Linked DNA regions of Homo sapiens: region 1 is linked to region 2. The links are contacts of gene promoters, found by promoter capture Hi-C in human tissues and cell types (Jung and others, 2019). All regions are on one chromosome and are shown on one strand. The core of a region is centred on a gene start or on the middle of the fragment in contact, and the rest is flanking DNA. Distances in the headings are between cores, read along the strand shown.

Region 1 (4,688 bases), core at 660-3,159, 140 kb before region 2:
CGATTCCAATCTATATGACTATGCTTTTGTGATGTTTGTTTATAAATCTATTGTAGAATGAAACTGGTCAAATTTTCATCTTTTGTCTAACTTATCTGACATTTTATAACCTTTAAGTTGTTTTATTATTTATTTTGAGACAGGGTCTCACCCTGTTGCTCAGGCTGGAGAGCAGTGACATGATGTTCAGGGCTCAATGCAGCCTCAAGTTCCCAGGCTCAAGTGATCCTCCTGCCTCAGCCTCCCAAGTAGCTGGGACTACAGGCACATGACACCATGCCTTGGTAATTTTTTGTATGTTTCGCAGAGATGAGGTTTCGCCATGTTGCTGGTCTCAAGCTCCTGGGTTCAAGCGATCCTCCTGCCTGGGCTTCCCAAAGTGCTGGGATTACAGGCATGAGCCACTATGCCCAGCCTTTTATTACTTAAACTAAGATATAATAATTAATGTAAAAGGTGTTCAAATCACTTTTATAAACTTGTTTATAGCACATATTATTGTATATGCAGCACTGACTTTTTCCTTAAGTCTCAAACTCAAGTCCTTAAGCTTGATAGTTTAAATTTTTTCCCAAATTTTATTTTATAAAGTAAACTAAGTTTTAATCGGATAATCTAGAACATATCACATATGGGGTCATTTTTTTTTCTTTTTTTTTTTTTTTGAGACAGTCTCGCTCTGTCGCCCAGGCTGGAGTGCAGTGGCGCGATCTTGGCTCACTGCAAGCTCTGCCTCCTGGGTTCACACCATTCTCTTGCCTCATCTTCCAGAGTAGCTGGGACTACAGGCGCCCGCGACCATGCCTGGCTAATTTTTTATATTTTTAGTAGATACGGGGTTTCACCGTGTTAGCCAGGATGGTCTCGATCTCCCGACCTTGTGATCCACCCGCCTTGGCCTCCCAAAGTGCTGGCTTTACAGGTGTGAGCCACTGCGCCCGACACATATGGGGTCAATTTTTCAATTTTTATGTAATAGAGACTATTACCTCTATTTTTCTTTATTTCTTTTTTTTTTCTGAGATGGGGTCTCGCTCTGTCGCCCAGGCTGGAGTGCAGTGGCGCCATCTCGGCTCACTGCAAGCTCCGCCTCCCGGGTTCATGCCATTCTCCTGCCTCAGCCTCCCGAGTAGCTGGGAGTACAGGTGCCTGCCACCATGCCCGGCTATTTTTTTTTTTTTTTTTGTATTTTTAGTAGAGATGGGGTTTCACCGTGTTAGCCAGGATGGTCTTGATCTCCTGACCTCGTGATCCTCCCACCTCGGCCTCCCAAAGTGCTGGGATTACAGGCATGAGCCACCACGCCCGGCCTACCTCTATTTTTCATGGAACATATTCTAAAGATCTCTTTGGGGAAAAAAATCTTCTAATACTATAGTGTAAAGATCTGTGCACAAAGGAAATTTGTTTCAGATATAAACTATTTTAACCAGTTGCTTTCATATCTCAGTAATACTCAACTTGTTCAATTCTTCCTATTTGAAAAGATTGGAAGCATAGATCTTTCCCCCCTATTAACTTCTGCTTCTCTCTGAACAAGGAGGCTGTCAAAACTAGGGGAGGCAGGGGTGGAAGTGGAAGGTGGGAATGAAGTTTAGGCTGGATTGGAGCCGTAACAGGTGAACCTCTGCTGGGTTGGCAAAGCAAACCTCTAAGATCTGAAACCAAACCCCTGGGTTTCTACTTGGAGGATGTCCTCATATTCATATCATCAACTGGTTTGACTGACTATTAACATTTTTATCAAGAGCTAAACCAAGCTGACAGGGAGGCTAGAGCTCTGCATGGTGTGTCTGATTTGTAAGAATGGTTTCATTAAGTCAGAGGCCCATTCAAGTTTGCTACAATCACATCACCACCATCACTAATGCTGAAATCAGCAGGGATAACACTTTTAAAAGACTTCATGTTATCATCACAAACATACCTCTTCCACGGGGCATTTTTGCTGTGTACTATTCATGAGTGCTAAGGGAAAAAAAGAAGGGGTTATAGAAGAGGAAAGGAAGAGAAAAGAGTGAACCTAGTTGCCTAAGCTTTAAAAGGAATTCAGGAGCATGACTGTCTTGCCATACCACTGTTTTTCCCTGCTATGCACACTTAAATGGAAAAGCAAAGTTGATGATCCACAGATTCAGAGAGTAAAGAAATACTGCCGCAAAGATTTGTCTGTGCAGACCAGGATATCCACACACATAACCAGTTGAAAAACCCGCTTGTAGGGTTTTTTTTTTTTTATTTTTTTGAGACAAGGTCTTGCTCTGTCACCCAGGCTGGAGTGCGGTGGCACAATATTGGCTCACTGCAGCCTCGACTTCCCTGGCTCAAGCGATCTTCCTGCCTCAGCCCCCTGAGTAGCTGGGACTACAGGCATGCACGACCACACCTGGCTCCTTTTCGTATCTTTTGTAGAAACGGGGTTTTGCTATGCTGCCCAGACTGGTCTCGACTTCCTGACCTCAAGTGATCCGCCCACCTTGGCCTCCTAAAGTGCTAGGATTACAGGCATGAGCCACTATGCCTGGCCTGTCTGCAGTTTTTAACAACGGTTTTAAAAAATCTAAAAACTATTTTGCAAAATCAATTTGCTACTTCAATAAGCATTGATTTTAAAGTATGAATAGTACTTAAAAGGTAATTCAGTAGTCGATCTACATTGTTTAAAATCAGCAATTTTAACTTGATTCTGCCCGTTCACACCAGAGGTCATTCACAGCAGGCCCCCAGGCAGCAGAGTGGCACTGCCGCTGAAGAACATGGAGGGGTCTTGCAGTCGTACGTACAGATGTCCTTCTGCACAACCTTCAAGAATCACTGCTTTCCCCTCTCCTTGTCTGGCTTTTTTCACATTCACTTATCTATGAAATCTTTCTTTTCTCTCTTGATCCTTCTGGAAAAACTGACACCTTCTGTCAGTGCTGAACAAGATTAATAGCTACAAACACTTTTGGTTTTCACTGCAGATTTTCATGTGTTGTCTCATGCTCTTTGTGCTAATTTCTCAACTATCTGCTTATACATTTCATTCTCACTTTCCCAGATTAAACAAATTTGCTGTAGTTGCCAGGAAAATCGAATTTGCCAGATTGCCATATAGACAAGCATGTCCCATTTTACCTCTCTGCCACAAGCTGCTAGTCTGGTACGTTTTGGGTTAATGCCACAGAATAAAGGCAGTATTTTCAGTTAGAGTTATCCTATCATTTTACAGAATTATTTTCAAACTTTTTCTTTTTTTTTTTCTTTTTGAGCTGGGGTCTCTCTCTGTCGCCCAGGCTGGAGTGCAGTGGCACGACCTTGGCTCACTGGAACCTCTGCCTTCCAGGTTCAAGCGATTCTCCTGCCTCATCCTTCCTAGTAGCTGGGATTACAGGTGCCCACCACTGCGCCGGGTTAATTTTTGTATTTTTAGTAGAGATGGGGTTTCACCATGTTGGTCAGGCTGGTGTCGAATTCCTGACCTCAGGTGATCCGCCCGCCTCAGCCTCCCAAAGTGCTGGGATTATAGGTGTGAGCCACAGTGCCTGGCCTATTTTCAAACTTTTCGAGTTCAAGTGGTTAAATTCTAAATACAAAACATATTCATGTTAAAGTTGAGATGTAGATGTGCAGTATTACCACCAATAAAGAATCTTCTCGAATTCCAGCAGGATCACAAGCCTGGAAAGACCCTCAGCGATCGTCCTACTCAAACTTCACAGAGGAGAAGACTGAGATACAGAGGGGTTAAATGAATTACCCCAGGTCCAACAGCCCTTTAGGAGCAAGGCTAGGAGCAGTTTGTTTCTTGAAGCAGTTTAACTCTGTGTGGAGCCAGGAGAGTGGGATGCTAGCTAGTCTTGATCTAAATAATTCAAAATTATCAATAAAATGATGTCAGAAGAAATAAACACATAGAAGGATTATTAATTATAAATACCCTTGCTATAGAACTATGAATGAATGATCAATGAACTAAGAATGAAAGATCAATGAAAATCACAATAATATAAGAAACTTACTGACTACATTTGTTTGGGACAGGGTATAAGAGTTAGATGCATTTGACATGATAACAAGAACGTCTGTGGAGTGGAAAGCTCAATGGCCTTGAAGTCAGGAAACAAGGTTCATATCTTGGCTCTACCTTGTGAAGCCACTTAACCTTTCTGGGACTCAGTTTCACTACCACATGTAAAATGGGTCAACACCTACCACGCACAGTGTTATTTTATAATGTATGGAAACAGTTCCTGACTCATGGTAGGTAAACAATATTAACTAAGTCTGAATTTCAGAAAATAATTTTCTCTTAAAAAGTTAATGAAAGGAAGAACATAAAATTCTAGATGTATCCAATTAGGATACATCAAAACACTTTACCAAAAATACTCAGGATTCACAAGAATACATGCAAAGAAAAGGACCCCAAGGCTTGACTGGAACCGGAATCATTATGAAATAAGTTGAACTACAACCAGTTAAAGAATATCACTTTAACAATGGGATAAAGTCTTTCCGCTTGCCAGGGTTAGATGACTGAGTATGGGATAGTAACACACACATTTTAATGGGCTGGCTAAGATAAAAATTATTTACAGCTTTTTCTTATAGAATAGGCAAAAAGAAGAAAACAAAAGGGAATGGCACAATTGTTACTCATTCTGTATTTATATGTTATCATGAAAGGATCTGTTTGGCCTTCTTGC
Region 2 (5,101 bases), core at 1,782-4,281:
AAGCTGGGAAACATAAATACATTTTATAAAGAAGTTGGGCACCAGATCAACTATCATCCTTTGTTGTAAAATAAAACTGTGATTAATCAAACCCAATTTTCTTAACATCATTTTAAAAACACACACACATTTATTTCCTAAGGATGCCCTACAAGGACTGTCCTGTGCTCAGAACCTGCCTGGGGCTCTTGGCCTTTGAATGAAAAGAACTCATTCCAGACATTTCATAATCTCAAGTCATTACTTGCTTTCTGCTGGGTTGATAAAATACAGGACAATTCCACTTAAATGATCTTAAAAAGGTAAAACTAAACAATATTTTATAGAGATGCATATGTGTATGGTAAAACTGTACAGAATGAAAAGGAAATAATAACCACAAAGGTTAAAAAAATGGTTACATCTAGGGGAGAGAGGAGGCTAAGTCTAGGAGGGATGGGAATCCATTTCTAAGGAACTGACTATATCCTATTTCTTGACTTGAGCATGAGTTACAAGAGTTTTTACTTTATAATTTACAAATTTCATATGTTCTTCTGTATGTAAGTTACAAAAATAAATAAATGCACTTACACAACCACTCCAAAATTTATCAGGGAGAGAAGGAAGAGTTCACAGACTACCTTAAGTCCATAAACCCCAGGTTTATGGTTATCAAGCTAGGTGAAATCAGAGAAAAGGAAACTCTTTAGATTGTAAAATGATAAGGGAAGGAGGGAGCACTGAGAACAGGAAAAGTGAAAAACTGAAAAGGTGATGCAGAAAAAACATGAAGCTTCTGCGTCAGTTCATACCCTCTCACTTGGAGGAGAGCAACATCTAGCACAGACATAACTAACAAATGCCCAAGCTTGGTAAGGAATGTGTTAGTGTCTGAAAAACATGTTAACTAATAAGGGGAAAGTGGAGCTCAGCTTGTAAAGAAATGTAAACTATTAAATAATTTCTTCTAAAAGAAATAAATCCAAAAATCGCAAGTTTAACCCTCTTACTCATTCCATTACATCGTCCTCACACCCTTTAATGGAAAAAGGGCATATAAATGGTTAGAAAACTACAAACACCAATTACTGAATGCAAAAAGTACACAATGTCATGTCTCAGCAAAATATTATCAAAGAACCTAGAAAAGCCTTTGTCAACCTTGAGAAATTAGGGAACTGGTGAAAACTAATTACAAAATGTCATTTCCACCAGCTTTGGAATAAATACACATATTGCAACTAAATGATAAACACACATCTGGATCACATCTAGTCTGAACTCCAAAACAGGTCTTCACTGTACAGTCTCTTGTGAGAATGAAGCTTTCTGCTGAAGGTAACAGGAATCTAAGGTGGCCTACCCTGTTTAAATCCATAGGTCAGGCATGGCGGTATATCTTTGTAAAGTTTTTTCATTGTACTCTTGCAAGAAATATTCACTTATATCCAGCAACTATTCATTATTTCACAAGGTTTGGGTTTACACTGAACAAAATTACCAATTATGTTCAAAACTGGTGTTCATATAGACAGCCAAATGCCTTATTTTGATGAAAAGTTGTAATAATGAGCATGGAGAATTATTTTTATGTTCCAAGATTCTACCAAAGGCATTAAATTGACTATTTCTTCAAGATGTTCTTCTCAAGTTTTCCTTTCATCCTACTTTCTACCCTCCATTTGTTCCGCACAGATACAATATCTTCTCTATTTTTCCAACTTTCTCTTAGTGGTTAAGGGAGTCACACAGAAAAGCTTCTCCACTTCATGGAATATTCGCTATATTCCACTTTATAATGAGGCTCTCAGTGAATCGTTCTCCTCCGACTCTCTCACTTCCCTATCTCCCTTTTGTTGCCAGTCCCCCTAGGTTTGTTCTTCCCTCTTGTTTTCAGATAACTCGGATTACCCAGTTGGAACCAAAGGCCAAAGAATGTCCTCTCTATTATGTTTGATTGAAAAGCCGCCCGGAAGAGGGAAGGGGTGTGGATCTACACTTATTCACTCTTTCACTAATGTGCCAAACTATTTGATCCGTGCCGCTTTTGTGTACCCAAAACACAGTATCATAAAAGTAATTACAGGCCCGAAAATGATTCTCAGCCCAAATGAATGGCCTTTTGGAATGCTATATTCTGGACTTCTCTTTGCGTGGGGGAGGGTCTCACAACTAACGAAAACAAGTCCTACAGAAAACTGGTGAGCTCGGCGGCTGGGGGAGGGAGGGAGGGGGGTCACAGGTCCGAAGTGCAAGGGACGCCGAAACAGGACTTGCCTCAGTTATGAGCACGTGCTCTGACCTGGCTGCGGCGGCGCAGGCAAACCCCTCGGAAGGTGTCGTTGTCCACCGAGACGGCCATTGACCTCTGACTCATCCAGAGATAAGTCATCAACCAGGCCACAAGTCCCAAGCCAGCAGCTCCTGGATTTAGTGTGCACGGAAAATTTGAGTTTCAGCTGTACGACCACTAGCAGTTAAAGACGGGTCTGAATTTCCTCGGGCTCGGCCGGAAAGTGAGGATGGCGATGGAAATGCCACCCTCCCCGAGTCTGGCCTCTGAGAGTTAAAGAAGCCGGTCCCATCCCGGCGCGTGAAGGAGCTGCCGCTGTGTGGGGCAGGACCCGAGCGGCCCCAGAGCGCGCAGCTCTGGGTCCCCGCCGCCCCGTCCCCCGCGCCTCTCACCTGCGGCCGAGTGGCCCGAGAGCGCACGGCCCCGGGCGCGGCGCTGGCCACCAAGTTCGCGGCGCTCGCGTAGCTCTTCCTCCTCGTCCTCCCGCCGCCGGCCCTCAGCCATGGGCGAGGCGCGGGGCGCAGCCGCGGGATGGCCAGCGAGCTGCGGCCCCGGCGCCCCAGAACGCCTGCACCCGGCGCCCCACGCCACCGCCCTCGGGCCGGGGGGAAGGCGGCTCCCGGAGAGGAGGCGTCGGCGGCGGCTGTGGAAATGGCCACCTCCGCGAACTCCACCTGCAGCCGGCCGGGCAGCGGCAGGGCGCGGGCCGAGCCGATTCCCCGCCTCCTTGCGGCGTCCCGGCGGCCTCTTAATCCCTGGCCTTTCCCACTCCCACTCCCGCTCTCTTCCCCCTTCCTCTTTGCCTTCCCCGCCCCGTAGAGCTCCACCGCGGATCGGGCGGGTTCGGGGCTGGCCTCGCCTCCTCAGGGAGGGGTTATCGGCCCCTAAGGCCGCCCCACAGCCACACACGCTGGAAACACCAGCTCGACCCAAACAAACGTGTGCAAAATAAATAAACGGGATAGGAAGAGGGGAAAGAGGAGGTGGCCTGGCCTCTTCCTGCCTTTTCACGATATTCCAGTGTCAACAGGAAACCCATTTGTTTGACACTTAAACAAAAAGAGGAGGAACCCGACCGGGGCCGAACTGGGAGAGATGGGACAGCTGGGAGCTGCTGAACTTTGGAACAAACTTGGCTTGGAGTTGGGTCGAGCCTCTGCAATGCACACTTTTTTCTTTCCCTCTCTTTTCGCCCTTAAAAACCTAGACTTGCGGGAGCACAGAGGATTTTTAGGGCAGTGAAACTACTATGCGTATGATTCTGTAATAGCGGATGCCTTTGTCCAAGCCCAAAGAATGTACAAAACCAAGAGTGAACCGCAATGTAAACTATAGACTTTGGGTGATTATGAGGTGTCAATGTGGGTTCATCAATTGTAGCAACTGTGGCACTCTGGTGGGGGATGTTGATAATGGGGGAGGCTATGCATGTGTGGGAGCAGGGGGTACATGGGAAATCTCTGTACCTTTAGCTCAATTTTGCTGTGAACCTAAAACTGTTCTTAAAAATAGTCTAGTAAGACTGGAAGCGGTGGCTCATGCCTGTAATCCCAGCCCTTTGGGAGGTCGAGGCGGGCAGATCACGAGGTCAGGATATCGAGACCATCCTGGCTAACACGGTGAAACCCCGTCTTTACTAAAAATACAAAAAAAAAAAAAAATAGCCAGGCGTGGTGGCGGGCGCCTGTAGTCCCAGCTACTCGGGAGGCTGAGGCAAGAGACTGGCCTGAACCCAGGAGGCAGAGCTTGCAGTGAACGGAGATCGCACCACTGCACTCCAGCCTGGGCAACAGAGCGAGAGTCCTTCTCGAAAAAAAAAAAAAGTCTAATAAAAATGTTTAATAATAAATCAAGCCTCACTGTATTCCAGTTCATTTAGGGCTAGGATATGGCTACAATTCCTAGAAGAACAGGAAGAAATGTGTTAAAGAGACCCATACGTGATTATTTGTAGAGAGGCAACTAGGGGAAGTGGAGAGACCACTGGCTCTGGAGTCAGAAACTGTAATTTGAAGCACTTAGCTGTGTGAGCTACCCCTAAGAAAGTTTTTCAAAGCTGGAAAGAACCGTGTAACCAAAGTTGTGTGTACCTGCACAATACACATCTTAGGTTCAGTAGGTGCACGTACTTACTTTCACACAGAGAGGAAAAGATTCTGGAATTTCACCAAAAGATACCCAAGTAGCAGGCAGAAATATTACCTGGACATGAAACCTTAGGAAATTCCTGAGTGCGATGAACAGGCCTTTATCTTTGGCGTCTTGCTCTATTTCTGAGAGATTACCAAGAGCTCCTAATGTTCAGCAAGTAGGAGAGAAAAAGAAAGGGAGAAAAGGGTCACTGAAAATAGAATTGCCTGCCACACCTGAGTGCTGTTTCTTTGCCTTTTCAATAGTGGCTGTTGCCGCCTGAGAAAATCTTTCCGCTTTTAAGCAGATAAGAACCACAATCGATTCTGTGGAATTGAGGTCAAATCCACAAGTTAAAACTTTATTACTGCATAAGCGATTAAATAAGTAGACACTTAGAGAACTGGAAATTAAGCCAACAACAATAAAACAAAGGTTCTGGACCTTTAGGGTTGTTTTAAATGTTTGGTAAGTGAAACCTTATTTGTCACTTCCCTTCAAGGATGAATAATTTAAAAATCCCTACCTTGACCAACAGTACCATTTCATTAAGCCATTGGAGTCAGTTTCTACTGTCATTGAGTCTTAATTTTTTTTTTTTTTTTTTTTTTTTGAGACTAGAGTCACTCTATTGCCGAGGCTGGAGTGCAGTGGCACGATATCGGCTCACTGCAACCTACGCCTGCCGGGTTCAAG

Evidence for each region. The method cuts DNA at HindIII sites, captures the fragments that hold promoters and counts their contacts. A contact is called where the count stands out against the background at its distance.
Region 1: a contact is called between a fragment that was not itself captured here and the fragment with the promoter of SH3D19 in region 2, in 2 of the 25 tissues and cell types used here (bladder and mesenchymal stem cells).

Annotation. Positions count from the first base shown.
Region 1 is chr4:151,179,762-151,184,449 of GRCh38, forward strand. The region is part of intron 3 of SH3D19 (SH3 domain containing 19); the gene reads right to left. Among named protein-coding and RNA genes, the nearest start is that of SH3D19-AS1, 58 kb to the left of the region's middle. The HindIII fragment of the contact is 3,545 bases long and covers 138-3,682 here.
Region 2 is chr4:151,322,574-151,327,674 of GRCh38, forward strand. It overlaps SH3D19 (SH3 domain containing 19), which reads right to left and starts at 3,032. Exons shown (of 20, transcript NM_001378122.1): 1 at 2,668-3,032. The coding sequence starts at 2,779. The HindIII fragment of the contact is 31,894 bases long and covers 1,524-5,101 here.